4 separate regions of the Homo sapiens genome follow, and regions 1, 3 and 4 are each linked to region 2. Evidence: promoter capture Hi-C in 16 types of primary human blood cells and fetal thymus (Javierre and others, 2016). All regions are on one chromosome and are shown on one strand. The core of a region is centred on a gene start or on the middle of the fragment in contact, and the rest is flanking DNA. Distances in the headings are between cores, read along the strand shown. Region 1 overlaps LOC105378305 (a long non-coding RNA gene). Region 2 holds the start of PRKG1-AS1 (PRKG1 antisense RNA 1). Region 3 overlaps MBL2 (mannose binding lectin 2). Region 4 overlaps LOC124902426 (a long non-coding RNA gene).

Region 1 (2,848 bases), core at 341-2,840, 310 kb after region 2:
ATCGGATACTTGGATTTTCAATTTTACTCTAAATATAACTAACATGAACAAACTTGTATTGAAATCATTGCTTATATCTAGTGACTGATTCTTGGGATAAATCCCTGAAGGAAACATTATTGTGACAAAGTTTATTTATATTTTCTAAAGCTTTCAGTATAAAATGAGAACCATTATAGTCTCTGAAACAAATACCTCAATCAATTTAACTGAATCTTATTTTAAGAGAATACACTTGATTTATCATCAGCTTCTCATATAGAAACTTCAGATAAGGATATAAAAGCCTTTGAATTTCAAATTGTGAAAATTATTAATATGTCAGGACTAATTAACATTTCAAAAGAAGGTTTGGGGAGCCCTTTTATTCTTTTGTCAACAAATGTAAACCACTATTATTAAATTTACATTGAGAAGACATATTGCCACTTTTTTCGTCTGCTTCTACTATAAATGACAAAAGAGAAACTATAGGAAATAGTAATATTTATAAAATGGTAAGTACTTAATAAGTGCCTACTAAGCTTTAGGCAGTGCACTGAGCATCTATATTTATTATCTTAAACCTTGCATAAAGCTAGAGTTAGGTAACAGTATTATTTCCTTCTCAAAGATATAAAAACCCAGGTCTCGAAAGGCAAAAAATTAGTCCACCCAGTTAGTAAATAGGGGAGCTAGGATTCAAAATCAGGTACATCTGACACTGGAGTCCTGTCTCCTAAAGTAAAATTCTGTGTTTCCTTGAGTTTCTCCTTCAGCTACTAGTAGCAGTAACAGTAGTAGTATCATTCATTCATTCATTCATTTGCTTATGAGGTTATTTAGTACCTATTATGCTCCAAGATCTCTGCTAGTTACTTGGGAGATTACAGGGAACATAATAGAGGCACTGATCTCTTGGAGCTTATAATCTTTTAGAGAAGGCAATTATTTATTCAATTGGTAATTCCACTAGAGTATATTGAGTGTTATGTTGGTGGAATCACAGAGTGCTATATAACTGTGTGTCCTCTGCACCCCCAGTATTTTATACTCATCTTCATTGGCCTTGTTACACTGAAAAATGAATTTTCACCTATGTGCTGGTTGTCCTTTATAAACTATAAACTTCTTAATAGCAGGCATCTTATCTGATTAATGTTTGTGACCCTAGCACCTAACATAGTTCCAGGCACATAGTAAGTGGGTGCCTAATAAATGTTTTTTTTTTTTTTTCCTGAAATACTCATTGATTATAACTAGTCTCTAAATAAGCAGTTTTTGACTCCTGATTCTGTTACTCTCAATGATTTATTATTGGTAAAGTGAAACTGTTAGTTATGTGATTATACTAATCAAATGAAGTTTTTGGAATTAAAAATAATGCCATCATTCGCTCTCTAATTCAACAAGTATTTTGTCCACTTACCACATATTACTTTATGTGTGGCACAAAGGACAGAAATCAGGCCCTGAGCTTACATTTAGGATTTTGACTTGAGTGGAAAAGATAAGACAAGCTTATAACAAAATACGTAGATGACCATTCAGGAACTTATTATGTATGTGAATGCATTAGTGTGTGTGTGTGTGTGCAAGAAATTCTGTATTCATCCTCAGGAAGAGTGACTATTAGAAGGAATGGGAGAGTGACTCATTGAGAGTGGTTAGGTCCCCCTTTCAGTCTTTTCTAATTGACCACCTAAGCTTTTCAGATCAATCACCAGCATGTGAAATGAACCCTTCATGCTGGATAGATCTCTCAGGACATGGAGGACATAAAGACTGCAGGTTCCATGTGGGTGGGTGTTTGAGCCCTCTGAGATCCAGAGGGTCCAATGTGGCTTTCCAGGTGTGGTACCCAGATGGACTGGACATTAGCACTGAGGCCTTGAGCCAGGGCAAGCCATAACCAAGCTGGTTATGAAGGAATGAAATCACACTCAGAGCCACTGTCCTTCAAAAAACCAGGCTGGCCTCTGCAGGGACATAGGATGAAAGCAGCAATAGGCAGAGGAAGGAAGACCCAGCAACTCAGTTGTTGTTCTGTGTGCAAGCAAGGGTTGGTGGTGGCAAACCCAGCAATGTCAAGATTCTTCCAAGGCAAGACGTTCAGAGGCCCAGAGCACTGAAAAGTTTAAGAAACTCTCACTCACTTATCCACGTGTGAATCAAAGTCAAAATAATACTAAACTATAAAATGCTAAACTTGTGTGCATGCTAAAATAAAAACACTTTCTATATTTGTAGATGAAAAAACTATAAAAAATAATAGTAAAGTAAACTTTCCTCACCTTATTGATGCCCTATTTTGCTGGCAGTCTAAACCTCTGCTTTCTTACTCTGCATAAAGGGTAAGCACTGGCCCTTTCGCTCTGGACAAGGGAAGCTGGGGGACCTATTTCCTGGGCTGATTTTTTTGTATTATCTAAGATGGTAAACAGGTGGCCTTAAGAATATGGTCCTGGACTTCCTGCTAACCTTAAACTGTTTTATATTTCTAGAACCTCGTTCTGATAGAATATGATAAATAAACAGTGTGATTTTATTCACCCCCTGAGTGGTACAAAACAATTCATATTCATTATAGTTAAAACATAAGGGAGAAAGTGCCAAGAAGTGTATGAGAAGTTTAAATAAATTATTAATAGAAATTCAGAAAACAGACGCAATTACATTAGGAATCTGAAAAGATTTATGGAAGACTTTGCATTTTGGCTTTAAGTGTAATGGAAGTTCAGGGATAACAGATGTAAAGAACAATGTCTAATTCTAGGGCTGAGAGAATACCTAAGGAAGGAGCAAACTTGGAAGAGCTTCTCTCACCAAGGCTGAGATCCAGACTTCTTTGAGGAGTGTGGCTGTGCCC
Region 2 (2,893 bases), core at 86-2,585:
TCTGACACTTATAATATCAACCTGTTTTTAAAAGAATTATGTATGCTTTTATATTTATTGCTATAATTTTATTGTTACTACATCTTTTATTATTACTGTAATTAGAATAAAGAGAACTTTATTATTTAAAATGAGAGCTGTGTCTCATAAATATTTGTATTCACTGTGCCCCTCCCCCCACCACCCATCTCACCAAAAAATTTAAAAAATAAAAATAAGGTAACAACCCAGAGGGCAGCCCAATGCCAGGGCTCTAGGCTTCCAATAAGTTTTTGTTGAATTAAATAGATCATTTCCCATTTATAAGCATGACATCATTCTTATACACCAGCCTTACTTTATTATATCCACACACCAATTTCAATGACGTCAAATTCACTTTCTAATTCACTTTCAGCTCTTCTTCTCCTCAAGGTTGTTTCTTTTCTCCCTAGAAAGGGTATTGCGTGGTCCCGTGCAAGGTAAGACTTGGGAGCAAACCCTGCATTCGGAAGCGTTGCGATGTGATATACTAATGAGGAAGTCAGGCGCTAAGCCCTAAGGGTTTCTTATTTCTCCACATTAGCCCACCACTGAGAAGGGAGAACCGGGGAAAGGCGACTGACCTGGCACGTTGGACCCTGTCCGCTTTGGTCCCGGCCACTTTGATCTCACGCGTCTGCCTAATCAAGTTCATCTACCGCCGCGATTGCCCTGATTCAAAGAACAACATTAAATGGTTTGATTATCGGATGGTCATTTCCCTCTTCCCTCCACCCCTGATCTAATTTCTAAACGCCAGTCTCTCGCCTCCCTCTCTAAACTTCCCATCAAAAGAGAATTAGCTCTTCTTCCTTCTTACCCTCGTTTGATGTGCAAATTTCCTTCTCTTTGCACATTTTTCTCGCAGTGGCGGGGGGAGGTGGGGGAGGAGGGCAACTGAAGGACCTCAAAGCCGGGGATCTAACTCAGATCTGCAAACTGCGACTCTAAAGGGTTAATGAGCAACTTGCACCCGCCACCTGGCCCTCTCAGAGGCGTCTTGCTAGAGCCATTGAATTACAGACCGGTTTGTATTTAATACTGAATATGACTTGTGTGCACAGTCAGCGAGTATTGGCATAAAGGAGAGGGGCAAAAAGTGCTTTTGCAGAGCCTATCACCCCTCGGCTCTGTAAAGTATTTCAGATCCGGATAATTCAACCCTTACTGCCAGGCAAGGGCACCCAAGTTCCCAGAGTTCCTGCTGCCGCCTGCATTTATTAAAGTCGTCTGCTATAACGCTCGCTGGTAGCCTTCACCCCGAAGGTGAGCCGGGCCAGCCGAGCGACTAAGCAAGGGAGGGGCGGGGTGAAGAGTGTCAAAGGCCCCCCTTCATGTACACAAACACACCCCCTCCCAGCCCCTCCCAGCGCTTTGAAATCCCATCCCGGCTTTGTTGTCTCCCTCCCAAGGGGCCGGAATGCTCCGGGCCCGCGGTATAAAGGCAGCCGCGGTGGCGGTGGCGGCGCAGAGCTCTGTGCTCCCTGCAGTCAGGACTCTGGGACCGCAGGGGGCTCCCGGACCCTGACTCTGCAGCCGAACCGGCACGGTTTCGTGGGGACCCAGGCTTGCAAAGTGACGGTCATTTTCTCTTTCTTTCTCCCTCTTGAGTCCTTCTGAGATGATGGCTCTGGGCGCAGCGGGAGCTACCCGGGTCTTTGTCGCGATGGTAGCGGCGGCTCTCGGCGGCCACCCTCTGCTGGGAGTGAGCGCCACCTTGAACTCGGTTCTCAATTCCAACGCTATCAAGAACCTGCCCCCACCGCTGGGCGGCGCTGCGGGGCACCCAGGCTCTGCAGTCAGCGCCGCGCCGGGAATCCTGTACCCGGGCGGGAATAAGTACCAGACCATTGACAACTACCAGGTGAGAGGGGTCGGGCACTCAGAGGATGCTCTGACCTTGAAAGGGTCCTATCTGGAGACGAGGGAGTAGAACGTGCTGAATGTGTGCGGTTCAGGGAGCATTTGGTAACCCTGCATTTGGGAGCAGTGGGCAGTAACAGGTTTTGGAGAGGTGGACAGATAAGGACTGTGATCAGCGCCCGGGTCCAAGAGGGCGGGTACCTGGACGTCTGGGTGCCTCACCCTCTCCCCGAACCCTTCCCACAGCCGTACCCGTGCGCAGAGGACGAGGAGTGCGGCACTGATGAGTACTGCGCTAGTCCCACCCGCGGAGGGGACGCAGGCGTGCAAATCTGTCTCGCCTGCAGGAAGCGCCGAAAACGCTGCATGCGTCACGCTATGTGCTGCCCCGGGAATTACTGCAAAAATGGTGAGTCCTGAAAGCTCCCTTTCACACTAAAACTGTCCAGCCTTTGAGCGTCTATGAATTGGGCGGGGGCGGGGGGTTGGGGGGGGTGGGGGGAGAAATCTCCGCCCTGAGAACACTGCGGCGCCACCTGCAAATGGGTGTTCAGCATGCAGGATTCCGCTGAAGTATCTTCATTGCAAGTGTTTAATCGGGAAGAAGAGAGAAGTTGGGAGGTCTCTGAGGTCCTTATCTTCCTCCGTGTCCCTCAATGATTCAATACAACGGTTCACCTCGTAGTGGACTCTTCCATAAAAATTTGTCTGGGGAGAACCTTGAGGTCAATTGAGAAGGGGGATGATGAGGAGGACGATGGGATCATACAGATATCAAAGAAACCAGCTTTGGCGTTCAGCTGTCCTTTTCATTTTTCTTATTGTGATTCTCACAGTTTTGCCAGACTGGCCTCGCCTTCTGATTTTTGCTGAAACTGTTGTCAGCCAGAGGACTGATTTATCTGCATTGGCCATTTTTAAGAGAGATCTTGGTACCCTCACAACTTGACTTCTCCATCCTTCCCCCTCCCTCTACCCTCTGCTGCCTTAATATAAGTACTCCTCCCCC
Region 3 (2,700 bases), core at 23-2,522, 460 kb after region 2:
TGATATAATTTATCTTTTCAAGCATACTGTGGGCCTGTGGGTTGCAGTAAAAAGACAAGGAGGGCCTGAGTGATATGACCCTTCAGATAGGGAACTCACAGACGGCCAGATGGGAGGTGGAGCAGGGGACGTCATTCCACTGGCCATTTTTCAGTAGCAATACACAATCTTCATCAGAACCAGCATTGTTGGGTTCACCCTCGTTCCAGTTTGTGTAGGTCAGTCTATTTCCTGTCAGATCCACAAACTGCCCTTCTGTCTTCTCATCAGTGATGCCCAGGAAGGCTTCCTCCTTGATGAGATTCTGAATGGCTCCATTCTCTGCAGCATTCCTGGGGGTGGCCACAGAGGCCTGGAACTTGACACACAAGGCCTTCACTTTTTCAAAGGTCATTATTTCACCATTGGTCAGGAAGAACTTGTTCCCAACTTGTTTGCCCAGAGAGAAGGTGAGCCCTAAAATGTGAAAAAGTGGGTGAAACTGACTCATCCTTAAGCCCAACTCAAGGTATTTCTCAAGAAAAAGTCTTCTAGAGTACAGTTGCCGGATAAAATATAGTATGTCCAGTTAAATTTGAATTTCAGACAAACAATGAATATTTTAGTATATCTCCCATATAATTTTTCAGACACACTTATACTAAAAATGTTTTTCAGCTGAAATCCAATTTAACTGGTGCTTTGTCTTTTTATTTGTTAAATATGGCAACCCAAATGTGAACAGACAGACTGGTACAAAGGCCTCTCTGTGCTTTCAGATCAGAATTCTAAAAGACATATAATTTGGACTTCTGAATTCTAAATTGTTAACTTGAGACCAAACAAAAAATGTCTGAAAATATTTGCCCCAGGCAGGTTAGACCCCACGGCCAGGTCTCAATACCAGTGCAACAAAGGGATATAAGTCCCATTTTCAGTGAGCAATATCAGACGGTAAAGGATTAGGGTCTCTCGAGTCAGACTGACTTCCATCTATAAACCACCCCTGCCATTTATTAGCTCTGTGCATTTGAACAAGTAATTTAACTTCCCTTTGCCTCCATTTCTACCAAAATGTTGTGAGAATTTCATGAGGTAAGAATATGAGAAATGCCTAGCAGGGTACAGAAAATTATATGCATTCAACAAATATTTGTTGCATTCTATTTTTCCCAAACTTCAAGCTGCCTGGAGAGTAAGAGAAAAAGCTTACACTTTTTGATACGTGCCATTTCTGTTTGCAGAGCTTTTCTTTCTGAGGCAGCCAGGCTACTATCACCATCTAGAAAATTAGAACAAAGTAAAGAAGCATTGTTGAGAAGGAGCCTCAGAACTGTGCATATACAAGGGAGTGGAGTATCTTTTTCAAACTGAAAAAAAAAGCTTATTTTACATTGATGTTTACACTTTGAAGGAAAATAAAAAATACTGAAAAGCCCAAAGAATGAAAAATCGCTATTTCCATCCAACCCCAAATGTCCCTCTTTGTCTGTTTACTGTATCCCAAAGTACGCATACATATCACATGCACACATATACTCCCTGATTACCTAGCAATCCATATGCCAGGTTCTTCACAGATTTTTTTTTCAAATAAATTGTTCTATCAAAACTAAAAAGAAATCTCTTGAGGCGTTACTCTATTATGACCTGGTGAAGAGTGACGAAAAAGATTGCAGAGTTTTTGTCTTTGGAGAGGTTTTGCTTTTGATGTCTTTTGTTTTGTTTTTGTTTTTTCCAGGTTTGTTCTGTTAGTCAGGAAACCAAGATTTTTGTGAGTTGCCCATTATCCAAGTGGGGAGGGCATGAGCAAATCACTTGTTGTAGTAGATGGCAAAAATGGCCTCAATAGGGTACAGCTCCTCGCATTAAGACATGAGTCTATTACCCCACTCCTTGAATCTGGGCTGGCCTTGTGACTTGTTTTGACCAATACAGTCTGACAGAAATGATAATGTGCTCTGAGTCTTCAAGAAGCCTAAAGCCTATCTTATTTCTACTCTTGGGAATCCTGTAATCACTGCTATGTGAACAAGCCCTGTTGGATGATGAGAGATGTGGTTCAATTACCCTCATCACTCCAGCTAACATTCAGACAACAGCCAGACACATGAGTGAGACTATTGGCCATCAGTTGACCACAGACATGTGGGTAAGCCCAGCTTAAACCAGCAGAGAAATCACATGGCCGACCCACAGACTTGTGATTTAAATTGACGGCTATGTTTTTAAGCTATTAAGCTTTGGCTTGGTTTCTTATGAAGTAAAATATGACATACCATGGTTACATGCTTTTGTAAAAATAGGTATAATAAGCCCACACTTAGATGGCCTGTTTTCTCCCTCTAGGACCAGGGCCTCACATTAGACTGTTTCAGCTGATGGAGAATCCAGGCTCAGCTCTTACAGGGAGTGCCTGATGAGGGAGTTGTCTTGAAAAGTTTGTAAGTCTGTACTCAGGCACTTATAGGAATTCCCTAAGGCTCTAAGAATGAAGAGAGGGCTGAGGGCACTGGGTCAGAAAGCAAATTTGGGTATCTTCCTTTGAAGGAACAGGAGAAGGGGCACCTCTTACCAGATACTCAAGGTCTCAGAACCCTGGGTGAAGTCAGCTCAGACCTTGCTGGGGTCCTTACCCGGACTTTTTCCAGGGTCTCCTTTTTGGCCCTTTGGTCCTGGTGACCCAGAAGGCCCTGGATTTCCTGGAGGCCCCAACTTTCC
Region 4 (2,748 bases), core at 175-2,674, 270 kb after region 2:
CTCTTGCTAAGCTTAATGGAACAACATTGAAAGCAAATTCTATCTTGAAATATTTTGCTTTAATGTTTTTATAATTAGACTGCAAATTATTTGAGATTAATGAGGCTATAATTCCTCCTAATAAGAGTGGTTGTAGTAGTAGAGGCCATGATAGTGGTCACAGTTATTAATTGTAAATAATAGTAGTAGCTACCTTTTAATGAGCACTTATTATGTACCAAGCACCATGCAAAGAGCTTTAGGTAAGTTTAAACTCTATGAGATAGAGTGTACCTTATTCCCTTTATTTTACACGTGAGGAAACTGAGTCAGAGGCATTGGTAGTTTTAGTCATGGAGTTGCAGTTACAATGATAATAGTAAGTGTGGTAGCTAAACTTTAGTATTCTTTATGTGGCAAGAGCAATTCAAGTATTATCTCCTGTAATCTTGAAAAAATACTATGAATTACATGTGACCATTTCATCTCTTTCTGTATGCTGTAGATTATAAACTGCATTATTTAGTAATTTTCATTTAGGAGAAAGACAAAACACTATGTCGAATTTACTCATCAATTATATAACTCATCAATTTCACATCAGAAATACTCAAATGTGAAATTAAATGTGTATCTTTAAGCCAAAGGAAGGTACTGTTATTGTCATTTTACAAAGAGAGAAACTGAGGCTTAGTGGATACCAAAAAAAAAAAAATGCCCAAATTCATAAGCACTAGTAGCAAAGCTGAGATGTATATTCAAGTCTGTCTGGTATGGAATCAGCATAGATCTGAATAGATTTTGAGCGATAAGAGAGAATATCTCTTATTTACATCAGCCTTTTCTACTGCAAAGTGTCTGCCTATTTTTTTTTTAAGTCAGATGTCGTATCTTCACAATTCTAAATATCTGTGAACTTGTAAATCAAATGGATATCCAAAATAGAAGTGAAAAGTTGACTGCAAGCAGTGTCTGTACCCAATCACTTGGAATCGTTGAACACAAATTCTCTCAGTAGCAAGAATATTGCCTGGATAATTGACTCAACTCTCCACTTCCCCTTGCCTTGAAAAGTCAATAACTAGCTGGCTGTTTTGGTTCTTTGCCTAATTGGGCAATGATATTTCTAAGACATGATATCCATATTGTGACAGAGTTATTTCTTTATAAATATTTAATGCCACCAACAAAGACAGTTTGAGAAGTAAAATAACAATGTTTGGGTGTAGTTTCAGTCATGCCTTACCACTTTGTTATATGACCCCGTTCCCTGGCTAACATTTTCTCAGGCAGTTATTTCCTGTGCATTTCCTGAGGTTTCCACAACTAGACATTTTTTAAGGGAAATGGTAGTTAAAATAATAGAGCTTTTAAGGAATCTGAAGTTTAGTGATTAGGATTGTGGCCAATGGGTATATTTCCTGATATCTGTGAGAATTTAGAAGGTAGAATTCCTTTCTAATTATTGTAATAACAAACATCCTTAACATTTTTTTCTCTAGAAGATTGATAAGAGAAAAATTCAGCAGACCACAGTGCCGCAGGAACAACTGGCTGCCATTGTGCTTAAAGAGAAACAAAACAGGAAGCAAACCAAGAAAACCAATCCTGACTCCCGCATACAAACTGAGAGACGGTCAGGAGAAAGAAACGTGTTTAGATAGGAGTGATGCAATCAAAGGTTTACTATATCATAACAAAGAGGCCTGCATATGATCAAACTTTTGAACATTCTCTTACAAAAGATATTTGGAATCAGTATTATTTATTTTCCTGTAGATCTTAAATGAAAAATACAGATCTGCAGAAGAGGGCTGGTTTATAAAGAAGAGCAGTTCTAAGCACACAAAAGATAAAACAGCACTACATTTCAAACCAAAAGAGTTTAAGTTTTATGCTTGAAAGGGTGATGAGATTTTATCAAAGTGAACACAGAAACATTTGTAAGGTCTTTATATCTTTGGGAATGCTTAGGATGTCAATCTCTCCTTTTCCAGGGATTTCACCCTTCCTTAACTATAAAAAGAAGACTTCTTGGGCCAGGCCGGTGGCTCACGCCTGTAGTCCCAGCACTTTGGGAAGCCGAGGCGGATGGATCACGAGGTCAGGAGATCGAGACCAGACTGGCCAACATGGTGAAACCCCGTCTCTAACAAAAATAGAAAAATCAGCTGGGCATGGTGGTGCATGCCTGTAGTCCCAGCTACTTGGGAAGCTGAGGCAGGAGAATTGCTTGAACCTGGGAGGTGGAGGTTGCAGTAAACCGAGATCGTGCCACTGCACTCCAGCCTGGTGACAGAGCAAGAGTCCGTCTGAAAAAAAAAAAAGACTTCTTAATAAAAAACAGGCATACCTCATTTTACTGCACTTCACTTTTTTTGTGCTTCACAGATATTGCTTTTTTTTTTTTTTTTTTTTTTTTTTACAAATGGAAGGTTTGTGTGGTAACCCTTCATTCAGCAAGTCCATTGGTGCCATTTATCCAAGAGCATGTGCTCACCTTGCGTCTCTATGTTACATTTTGGTAATTCTTACAATATTTAAAAATTTTCACTATGATTATATCTGTGATGGTGGTCTGTGATCAGTGATCTTTGATGTTCCTATTGTAATTGTTTTAGGGCACCACCAACTGCATTCATATAGGACGGTGCACTTAATTGGTAAATACTGTGTGTATTCTAACTGCTCCACCAATCAGGTGTTGCCTCATCTTTCTCCTGCTCCTTGGACTCTCAATTCCCTCAGACACAACAGTGTTGAAATTAG

What was found. Contacts are between HindIII fragments. The CHiCAGO score rates a contact against its expected background, and 5 or more counts as called.
Region 1: a contact is called between a fragment that was not itself captured here and the fragment with the promoter of PRKG1-AS1 in region 2, in 1 of 17 cell types (M2 macrophages). The highest score is 5.6, in M2 macrophages.
Region 3: a fragment that was not itself captured here is called in contact with the fragment with the promoter of PRKG1-AS1 in region 2 in 1 of 17 cell types (megakaryocytes); the score reaches 8.2 in megakaryocytes.
Region 4: a fragment that was not itself captured here is called in contact with the fragment with the promoter of PRKG1-AS1 in region 2 in 3 of 17 cell types (endothelial precursors, megakaryocytes and M2 macrophages); the score reaches 12.2 in endothelial precursors.

What each region holds. Positions count from the first base shown.
Region 1 is chr10:52,617,602-52,620,449 of GRCh38, forward strand. All of the region lies in intron 1 of LOC105378305 (a long non-coding RNA gene), which reads right to left. Among named protein-coding and RNA genes, the nearest start is that of LNCAROD, 150 kb to the left of the region's middle. The HindIII fragment of the contact is 187 bases long and covers 1,498-1,684 here.
Region 2 is chr10:52,312,793-52,315,685 of GRCh38, forward strand. PRKG1-AS1 (PRKG1 antisense RNA 1) reads right to left here and starts at 1,336. Exons shown (of 6, transcript NR_038277.1): 1 at 842-1,336; 2 at 606-693. DKK1 (dickkopf Wnt signaling pathway inhibitor 1) reads left to right here and starts at 1,489. Exons shown (of 4, transcript NM_012242.4): 1 at 1,489-1,885; 2 at 2,131-2,293. The coding sequence starts at 1,643. The HindIII fragment of the contact is 4,208 bases long and covers 1-2,893 here.
Region 3 is chr10:52,768,055-52,770,754 of GRCh38, forward strand. It overlaps MBL2 (mannose binding lectin 2), which reads right to left. Exons shown (of 5, transcript NM_001378373.1): 3 at 2,616-2,700; 4 at 1,193-1,261; 5 at 1-456. The coding sequence ends at 83. Among named protein-coding and RNA genes, the nearest start is that of MBL2, 3.4 kb to the right of the region's middle. The HindIII fragment of the contact is 175 bases long and covers 1,186-1,360 here.
Region 4 is chr10:52,577,714-52,580,461 of GRCh38, forward strand. LOC124902426 (a long non-coding RNA gene) reads left to right here. Exons shown (of 2, transcript XR_007062146.1): 2 at 1,977-2,336. All of the region lies in intron 1 of LOC105378305 (a long non-coding RNA gene), which reads right to left. Among named protein-coding and RNA genes, the nearest start is that of LNCAROD, 110 kb to the left of the region's middle. The HindIII fragment of the contact is 2,831 bases long and covers 10-2,748 here.